Linked DNA regions of Homo sapiens: region 2 is linked to region 1. The links are contacts of gene promoters, found by promoter capture Hi-C in blood cells and fetal thymus (Javierre and others, 2016). All regions are on one chromosome and are shown on one strand. The core of a region is centred on a gene start or on the middle of the fragment in contact, and the rest is flanking DNA. Distances in the headings are between cores, read along the strand shown.

Region 1 (4,082 bases), core at 1,184-3,683:
ACAACCTCAACCTCTGTCTTTTCCCAAGCCCTAACAACAAAATCAATTTACATTTTAATTTCTTATTTTCCCTACCAGCCGGTGATCATAACCAGGGTAATATAACAGCTAGAGGAAAAAACAATTGAAAAAGCCACTATCGGGCCGGGTGCGGTGGCTCACAGCACTTTGGAAGGCCGAGGCGGGCAGACCACGAGGTCAGGAGATCGAGACCATCCTGGCTAACATGGTGAAACCCCTTCTCTACTAAAAATACAAAAAATGAGTCGGGCGCGGTGGTGGGCGCCTGTAGTCCCAGCTACTCGGGAGGCTGAGGCAGGAGAATGGCACGAACCCGGGAGGTGGAGCTTGCAGTAAGCCGAGATCGCGCCACTGCACTCCAGCCTAGGCGACAGAGACTCCGTCTCGAAAAAAAAAAAAGAAAAGAAAAGAAAAGAAAAAGCCACTATCAAAAATTGAAGAGTTGTCCGGGAACGGTGGCTCACACCTGTAATCGCAGCATTTTGGGAGGCCGAGGCGGGCAGATCACTAGAGGTCAGGAGTTTGAAATCAGCCTGGTCAACATGGTGAAACCCCGTCTCTACTAAAAAAAAATTACAAAAATTAGCCAGGCGTGGTGGCGCGCGCCCGTAGTCCCAGTTACTCAGGAGGCTGAGGCAGGAGAATCGCTTGAACCCGGGAGACTGGGGTTGCAGTGAGTCGAGAACGCACCACTGCACTCCAGCATGGGCGACAGAGCAAGACTCCGTCTCAAAAACAAAAACAAAAAAAGAAAAAAAATTGAAGAGTTTATTTTCTCTATTTAAACAGTCCTTTCCTAGTTCTCCACATGAGGCATTCACTGACAGAACTGGTTCCTGAGCTTTTGTGGATTAACTTTTTAAATTCTTTCTGAACAGCTTTATGCCAAGGTTCTAAAGTTCACATTGTGTAAAGGAATCATACTTCTGAACAAAGTATTGACACGTGTTTACCATAAGACAGCAGAACAAGCTGCAGTTGGGCAATCGTTTTGTAAACTATTTCATAACTGCAGTAGAAAATCAAGATTTACTTGATGGAGACTTGGGAGACCTCTATAATTTTCTTAATGTTTAGACTATTTCCTCCAGGCTAAATTTATTAAGTCATGATCTAAGTGTTTTAGTGTAAAGTTTACAGCGTTAGTGTCACCGATTCTGTTTGATAAAGACTAGGGGCAGCCCCAAAGCATTTTGAGAATTACTTTGCTTAGTTAAAATATGAGAGGCTGAACTTCTTTCCAGCAAGCTGAGTAGGGAAATGAAACCACCAAACAGCACTGATACTAGGCCGTTTCCAAGCAAATATCCTTTTAAAGCATTGAGCTTTGAACTGACCCAAACTCTGAACTGTGACCTGAAAGAAAAAGGGCCTTCTGGCTTACTACCAGGGTAGAACCGAAACAAACAAACAGCTTGAGTTGAACCAATAGGTACTGTTTTTCAAAAGAATTTAACCAGAAACGCATGTGGTGGGTAAAGAGCATTTCCAAAGACCCCAAAATGAGGTAGTGCAAGTCTTAAACTTTTTCTTTCACCGGAAGTGCAAATCTGTGCATTTAAAGGTAAACTGCGTATATTTAAGCAGAAACCCTCTCCAGAAAAAAAAAAAAAAAAAAGCAGAGGAACATCTATCTACCACAGTGATCCAAACTGGTATTTCTGGTTTGCAGGATGTATGAATCCTAGCAAACCCAGGGCTGCTTCTGAGGTCCACAACGATATCCTACACTCGGGATTAGAAACAGGGAAGGGCCAAAGAGCCAAAGGTGGGGAGGGTTAGCGCTGCTCAACAGTCCACGCGCCCCTCACGCTGCAGTGGGTGCGTCTGCGGTCAGGTTCTCCGCTCCCTCTCCTCGTACCCCACCCCATGCTCGGAGTGTGTGAGGGCAGCTACTGATGCCAGCTCCCCAGCTCCTTTCCGGATGCGGGGGTGACCTGAGAATGGCTATCCTTGCTCCCCCCAGCCCCCAATTCTTCACCAGTAGCAAAGGGAGGGAGTGAGGCCCCGAGGCGGGGAGGGCTTAGCTCCGGGGCAGGCCCGGCTCGCTGCCCGGCGTACCTGGCTCTCGGCTGCGGGGATGCCAGACTCGAGCTCGCACAGCGCGCGGAAGTTGTGCAGCTCGAAGTCGGCGTCGACCTGGAGGGAAAAGGTCACCTCGGAGAGGTCCCTCCGCACACAGTACACGGTGAGCAGCATGGCCCGGGCCCGACCCGGCTCGGCTCGGCTCGGCCCGGCCTGGGCGCGGGGCGCAGGGGAAGAGGCGGCGGCGTGGCCTGGCTGGTGCTGCGGGAGGACGGCGCCGGCTGCTCGTTCGCTCGCTCGCTCCCTCCCTCACACACGCTCAGTGAGTCACTCCCTCCCGCCCTCACTAGCAAGCACGGCCGCCGCCACACGCCTGCGAGTCCGTCTGCCTGCCGGCCTGCCTCCCACGGCTGCCGCCAAGCGCGCCGGCCGCCCGGCGCCCCGCCCCGCCGCAACGCGGCTGCCGTAAAGCCCGCCTCGCCTTCCCCGCCTTCGCAACGCAGCGGGGGGCGGGGCCGGGAAGAGGAGGAGGAAGCCAGGAGAGGATAGGAGGGGGAGGAGTGGGAAGGGGGCGTGGAAGAGGAGAGGGAGGAAGGGCAAGAAAAGGGGAGGGAAGGAAAGGAACGCGGAGAAGGAAATCTCTGCTGACTGGTTGACTTAATGACAGAAGTCTGTGGAGGAGTCCCCGGTCTTATTTATTCACCGAACAGGCATTGATTAAGCGCCTACCATGTGTCGGGCGCTGGCGATGCAGAAATGAATAAAAGGATAAATCCTTCTCCGTAACTCTCAATCTAGTACAGGAGTTAGTAATAAAACATATTTTTCGAGGTAGAAATTGAGGCTCCGACAGAGTAATTCACTTCCTGTCTTAGTGATTTAGGATTGAAACCAAAATCATTACCCTCCCTAGTCTACAGAAGCCAGTTGGCTGTGGCCCACGCCTACCTCCCCAGCCCCTTCTTCCGAGCTCTTCCCACATTCTCTGCCCTCCCAGCCACATAGGTCAGTTCCTCCAAGGCTCCATTCCCCTGTCTTGTAAATAATTTTCTCTCTACTTGGACTGTGTCTGTTTCCTAGCCCTAGCAACTCCTACCACCTAGCGCAGTGCCTTTTTGGGCACAGCTTAGAATCTACTCAATAAATATTTGCTACTTTAATGGCCTGTTTTTAAGGCACACAGCTGATGAGTGGTAGAGGCCCAGAACTAAGGTGCGGATGAGTAAGAAAACCAAAACTGAAAGATGAACTTGTAATGGATGCCAGATTAGCATCTTTCCATTTACTCCCACTCCCCCTCCATGGTAGGGAGCCCTTTTCCATTTTAACAGGAGAGAAGGAGCAAATAAGATGGCTGTGGGTGCAGGTAAGTAGGTAGTAAGTAGGCTGTTGGTGGCAGGAAAGGGAGAATTAGCAGCTGAAGGCTTTTACAAAGAGAAATTAGAGGAGCTGGGCGCGGTGGCTCACGCCTGTAATCCCAGCACTTTGGGAGGCCAAGGCGGGCGGATCACAAGGTCAGGAGTTCGAGACCAGCTTGGCCAATATGGTGAAACCCCGTCTCTACTAAAAATACAAAAATTAGCCGGGCATGGTGGCGGACACCTATAGTCCCAGCTACTCGGGAGGCTGAGGCAGGAGGGTCACTTGAACGCGGGAGGCGGAGGTTGTAGTGAGCCGAGATCAGGTCACTGCACTCTAGCCTGGGAGACAGAGCGAGACTCTGTCTCAAAAAAAAAAAAAAAAAAGAGAAAGTAGAGGCACAGGGGAGTGAGAATGCTTATATCCCCTAGGAGCAACAGAAAGCTTGACTATCAGTGGCTTAAACAAACAAGGGTTTGTTTTCTCACAGGAGAGAAGGCCTGGAGGTAGCAACAGCACTGGTTGAGTGGCTCACTGAAATCAGGGCCAATACTTTTGTAATTGTCTTGACCTTTTCCTGAGGGTTGCAATATATGGCTGGCTGCCTCCACTGCACGCATCATTTTCCTATTCAAGGAAAAAGCTTGCCCAGAAGTCCCTGTGCACATTTTTGCTTA
Region 2 (4,082 bases), core at 694-3,193, 820 kb before region 1:
CGTGAGCCACCACAGCCAGCTGTTTTGACTCTTTTAAAGCATTAACTTCACATTTTAGTTCTAAGAAAAGGTCAGTTAAATCCCCAAATAGCAAGAACCGCAGGTGTTTCCAGGAGGCTTTTCTTAGAAGTCCCTATGCCAGTTCTCAAGAACCCTGGACGCGGCTGTCTTGAGGGCTGCACAAATGCAGATTCTCAATTCACAAATCAGCAGACTCAGTTCCTGTTCCTCTTACCAGGCCTGAGATTCAGGCTAAGGAGAGCTCCAAGACTTAAGTGCAGGCACTGGTAGTTTCCTCTAAGCTAAACCAGCCAGCCCTGACAATTCATAACCTCGCTCTCTGGGGCACCAAGAGGAACCAAATCCATCCTACTAAAGACCCAATAGGGGGCCGGGCGCGGTGGATCCTGCCTGTAATCCCAGCACTTTGGGAGGCCGAGGCGAGTGGACCACCTGAGGTAGGGAGTTCGAGACCAGCCTGACCAACATGGAGAAATCTCATCTCTACTAAAAACACAAAATTAGTCGGGTGTGGTGGTGTATGGCTGTAATCCCAGCTACTCGGGAGGCTGAGGCAGGAGAATCGCTTGAATCCGGGAGGCGGAGGTTGCAGTGAGCCGAGATCGCACCATTGCACTCTAGCCTGGACAACAAGAGGGAAACTCTGTCTCAAAAAAAAAAAAAAAAGACCCAACAGGAGATGGGGCTAGACGACCATCAATGGTTTGATGGTCCAACCACAGTTTGATGACAGAAAACAAATGTATTTTGGTTATTGTTGTTTTTGTTTTTATACTATTTTAAAATATGTCATGAATGTAATGTTCACTAACGCATCTTTTCACCATAAGATCAGCTATGAGCCCACGGTAACACAACTGGAAAGTAACAAGAGGAAATGTGGACGTTCCATCATTCTTGGGGTGCAGACCAATCCTGTATTTCCGAAAAACTTGGACAACCATCGCCTTCAAGAGCCACCCAGGCCCCCGCAAATACGAGCACTCCCCACCACCACTCAGTGGCACAAAATAGCCATAGGCCAGGTTGTCTGTATGAAGTGTATCTTTTTTCTTTTAATATTTTTCGTCGTTTTGATAGATAACGCATACAAAGAGTAGTAAAACGCAAACAGCACAAAAGGGAAAGGAAGTTTCCTTCCAAGGGCGGTTCCCCTCCCCTAGGGCAGTTTCCTGTGTTCCTTTGCAGAGATACTCAGTATGTTTACAAGCGTGTGTGTTTATTCGTCTCAGGTAGAGACCAGAGAAATATAGAAGGGGTCCTCCCAACTGCTCCAGGCTGTGATCAAGGGTGAAATTCGTGCGAAGGGATCTGGGTAGGAAGGGGTCCCTGGGCTTCGACCGTCACCTTAAAGCTCCCCGGGACCGGTCCTTTCAGCCGGCTCTGGGCTCCCTCCCCTCCTCTCGGGGATTTCCGTCTGTGATAGGGCACCTCCCCGCTTAAGGCTTTTCGAGGATCCCTTCAAGGCCACCGGTTAGCGCTGAAAGAGAAGCGTCTGTGACATCACCACCCCCGACCAAGTTTAGGGTACCCGGCAGCCCACCGGGGTCCCTAAGCGCTAGATACGGCTTTAACGCCCTCCCCGCCGCCAGGAGTCCCGTGCGTCGAACTGAGACGGGCGAAACTCTGGATCCACCTCCCTGCTCGGGCCTGGAACTGGAAGAAGCAGCAGCATTAGCTCCCCCTCGCCCCAAAACTGGCCAGGGCTGTCCTCGGTTCCCGCAGTGGGTGTGTCCGGGTGGCGGAGAAAGGGTTAAATTGGAGCTAGCCTGGTCTGGCGGTGGGTAGTCACCTGTAGCCACGGTTGGTAGCCCGCGGAGGGATGCGGTAGACGTGGACGTCAGGCTTGACACAGAGCACCGACTCGTACCCGCTCTCCTCCATCGCGACGCCTGGAGCCCACCGAACTTCCGGCGACTTCCACCGTTCCTCTGTCCGACGGACGGAAGCGGTGCGACTCTCTGACCAGGTTTCGGCTAGAGCGGCAGCTCGCGGGCCTCAGCACCGCCTCGTTTGTGCGCCCTCTGCTGGAAACCCGGCTCAAGACACGTGGCGGGCGACCTCCGGAGGCTTCTCCCTCCCTCCAGAGGCTTCTCCTTCCCTCCAGACACCCTCCGACGCAAAGAAAGCGCCCTGCGCCCGCCATGGACAGACCCCTCTGTAACCCGTGGTCTGGGTGTGGATCATCCCCATCGCTTCAGTTTCTTAGGCCTGGGGCCCAGTTGACCGAGAGGCAAAGCTGTAGCCCACCCTGCAGTATCTCTGTCCTCCAGCCTTTGCCTCGGCGCCTCCTCTGCCTGAATATCCTTCCCTCTCCTGACTGTAAGGCTCAGCTGGCACCTGACCCACCAGACTAAATAGATGCCATTACCCTACCACCCTCCATGCTTCCCCTAGGGGAACCCACTTATATGCTCAGGGCCCCGTGTGGCCAAACCTCAACAACGAGTTGTATTCAAAGAAGTAAAGTTTAGTAACACAAGTAATTTAAGAAGAATTCCAGGCCGGGCTTGGTAGCTCACGCCTGTAATCCCAGCACTTTGGGAGGCTGAGGCGGGCGGATCACCTGAGGTCAGGAGTTCGAGACCAGCCTGGCCAACATGGTGAAACCCCGTCTCTACTAAAAATACAAAAATTAGCCGGGCTTGGTGGCGTGTGTCTGTAGTCCTAGCTAGTTGGGAGACTGAGGCACTAGAATCGCTTGAACCCGGAATGCGGAAGTTGCAGTGAGCTGAAATTGTGCCACTGCACCTCAGCCTGGGTGACAGAGCGGGACTCTGTCTCAAAAAAAAAAAAAAAGAAGAAGAAGAATTCCAGTCTTAACTTCGATTTCTCCCAGAATATTCTGGGAGATACAATGTCTACCCTAGCCAAATTCTCAAAATCCCTCCTTCCCTACCATTCTCTCATTGAGTTGAGTGCCTGCAATGTGCCAGCCCCTATGTGGGGGTGAAGCTGATCCCAAACTTCTGATTCACTGAATACCCCAAACTTTCCCCACCCCTTCTTTCCTTTTCTCTCTCACTCTCCTTCTCCTTTTTACTTTTTTTTTTTTTTTTCTTCAGACAAAGTCTCACTCTGCCGCCCAGGCTGGAGTGCAGTGGTGCAATCTCGGCTCACTGCAACCTCCACCTCCCGGGTTCAAGCGATTCTCCTGCCTCAGCCTCCCGAGTAGCTGGGATTACAGGCACCCACCACCAAGCCTGGCTAGTTTTTGTATTTTTTTGGTAGAGACGGGGGTTTCATCTGGTTGGCCAAGCTGATCTTGAACTCCTGACCTCAAGTGATCCGCCCACTTCGGCCTCCCAAGTGCTGGGATTACAGGCGTGAGCCACCACGACTGGCCATTTCTACTCATTTTTTATAAGCTTTTTATTATAGGATTGATCTAACCACTTACATTTTTATTGTAAAATATACATAACATAAAATTTACCATTTTAAGTGTACAATGCTGTGAAATTAAGTACATTCACAATATTGTGCAACTATATCATGCTTTCCAGAACTTTTCATCATCCCAAACAGAAACTCCACACCCATTAGCAATAACTTCCCATTTCCTTCTGCTCCATCCCTTAGTAACCTCTGTTTTACTTTCTGTCTCTATGAATTTGCCTTTTCTAGATACCTCTTATAAGTGGAATCATACAATATTGGGCTTTTGTGTTTCTTATTTCACTTAGCATCAAGTTTTCAAGGTTCTTTCATGTAGCATGGATCAGAATTTCATTCCTTTTAATGGAGGGATAATATTCCATTGCATGTATATACCATATTTTGTTTATCCATTCATCTGTCAACAATTGGGATGTTATCACCTTTTGGTATTGGGAATCGGGCTACTATGAGCATTGGTGTTCAAACACTTGTTCTAGTCCTGTTTTCCATTTTCTTGAGTGTATACATAGGAGTGAAACTGCTGAGTTATACAATAATGCTATGTTTAGTGGTTTTGTTTTGTTTTGTTTTGTTTGAAACAGCATCTCACTCTGTTGCCCAGGCTGGAAAGCACTGGCATGATCATGGCTCACTGCAGCCTCAACCTCCCAGGCTCAAGT

Evidence for each region. The method cuts DNA at HindIII sites, captures the fragments that hold promoters and counts their contacts. A CHiCAGO score of 5 or more calls a contact.
Region 2: the fragment with the promoter of NECAP2 here is called in contact with the fragment with the promoter of DDI2 in region 1 in 2 of 17 cell types (activated CD4 T cells and total CD8 T cells); the score reaches 5.5 in activated CD4 T cells.

Annotation. Positions count from the first base shown.
Region 1 is chr1:15,615,809-15,619,890 of GRCh38, reverse strand. It overlaps DDI2 (DDI proteasomal shuttling factor 2), which reads right to left and starts at 2,433. Exons shown (of 10, transcript NM_032341.5): 1 at 2,083-2,433. The coding sequence starts at 2,220. RefSeq lists a silencer at 2,110-2,679. The HindIII fragment of the contact is 6,323 bases long and covers 1-3,851 here.
Region 2 is chr1:16,438,585-16,442,666 of GRCh38, reverse strand. It overlaps NECAP2 (NECAP endocytosis associated 2), which reads right to left and starts at 1,943. Exons shown (of 8, transcript NM_018090.5): 1 at 1,814-1,943. The coding sequence starts at 1,905. The HindIII fragment of the contact is 8,327 bases long and covers 1-3,391 here.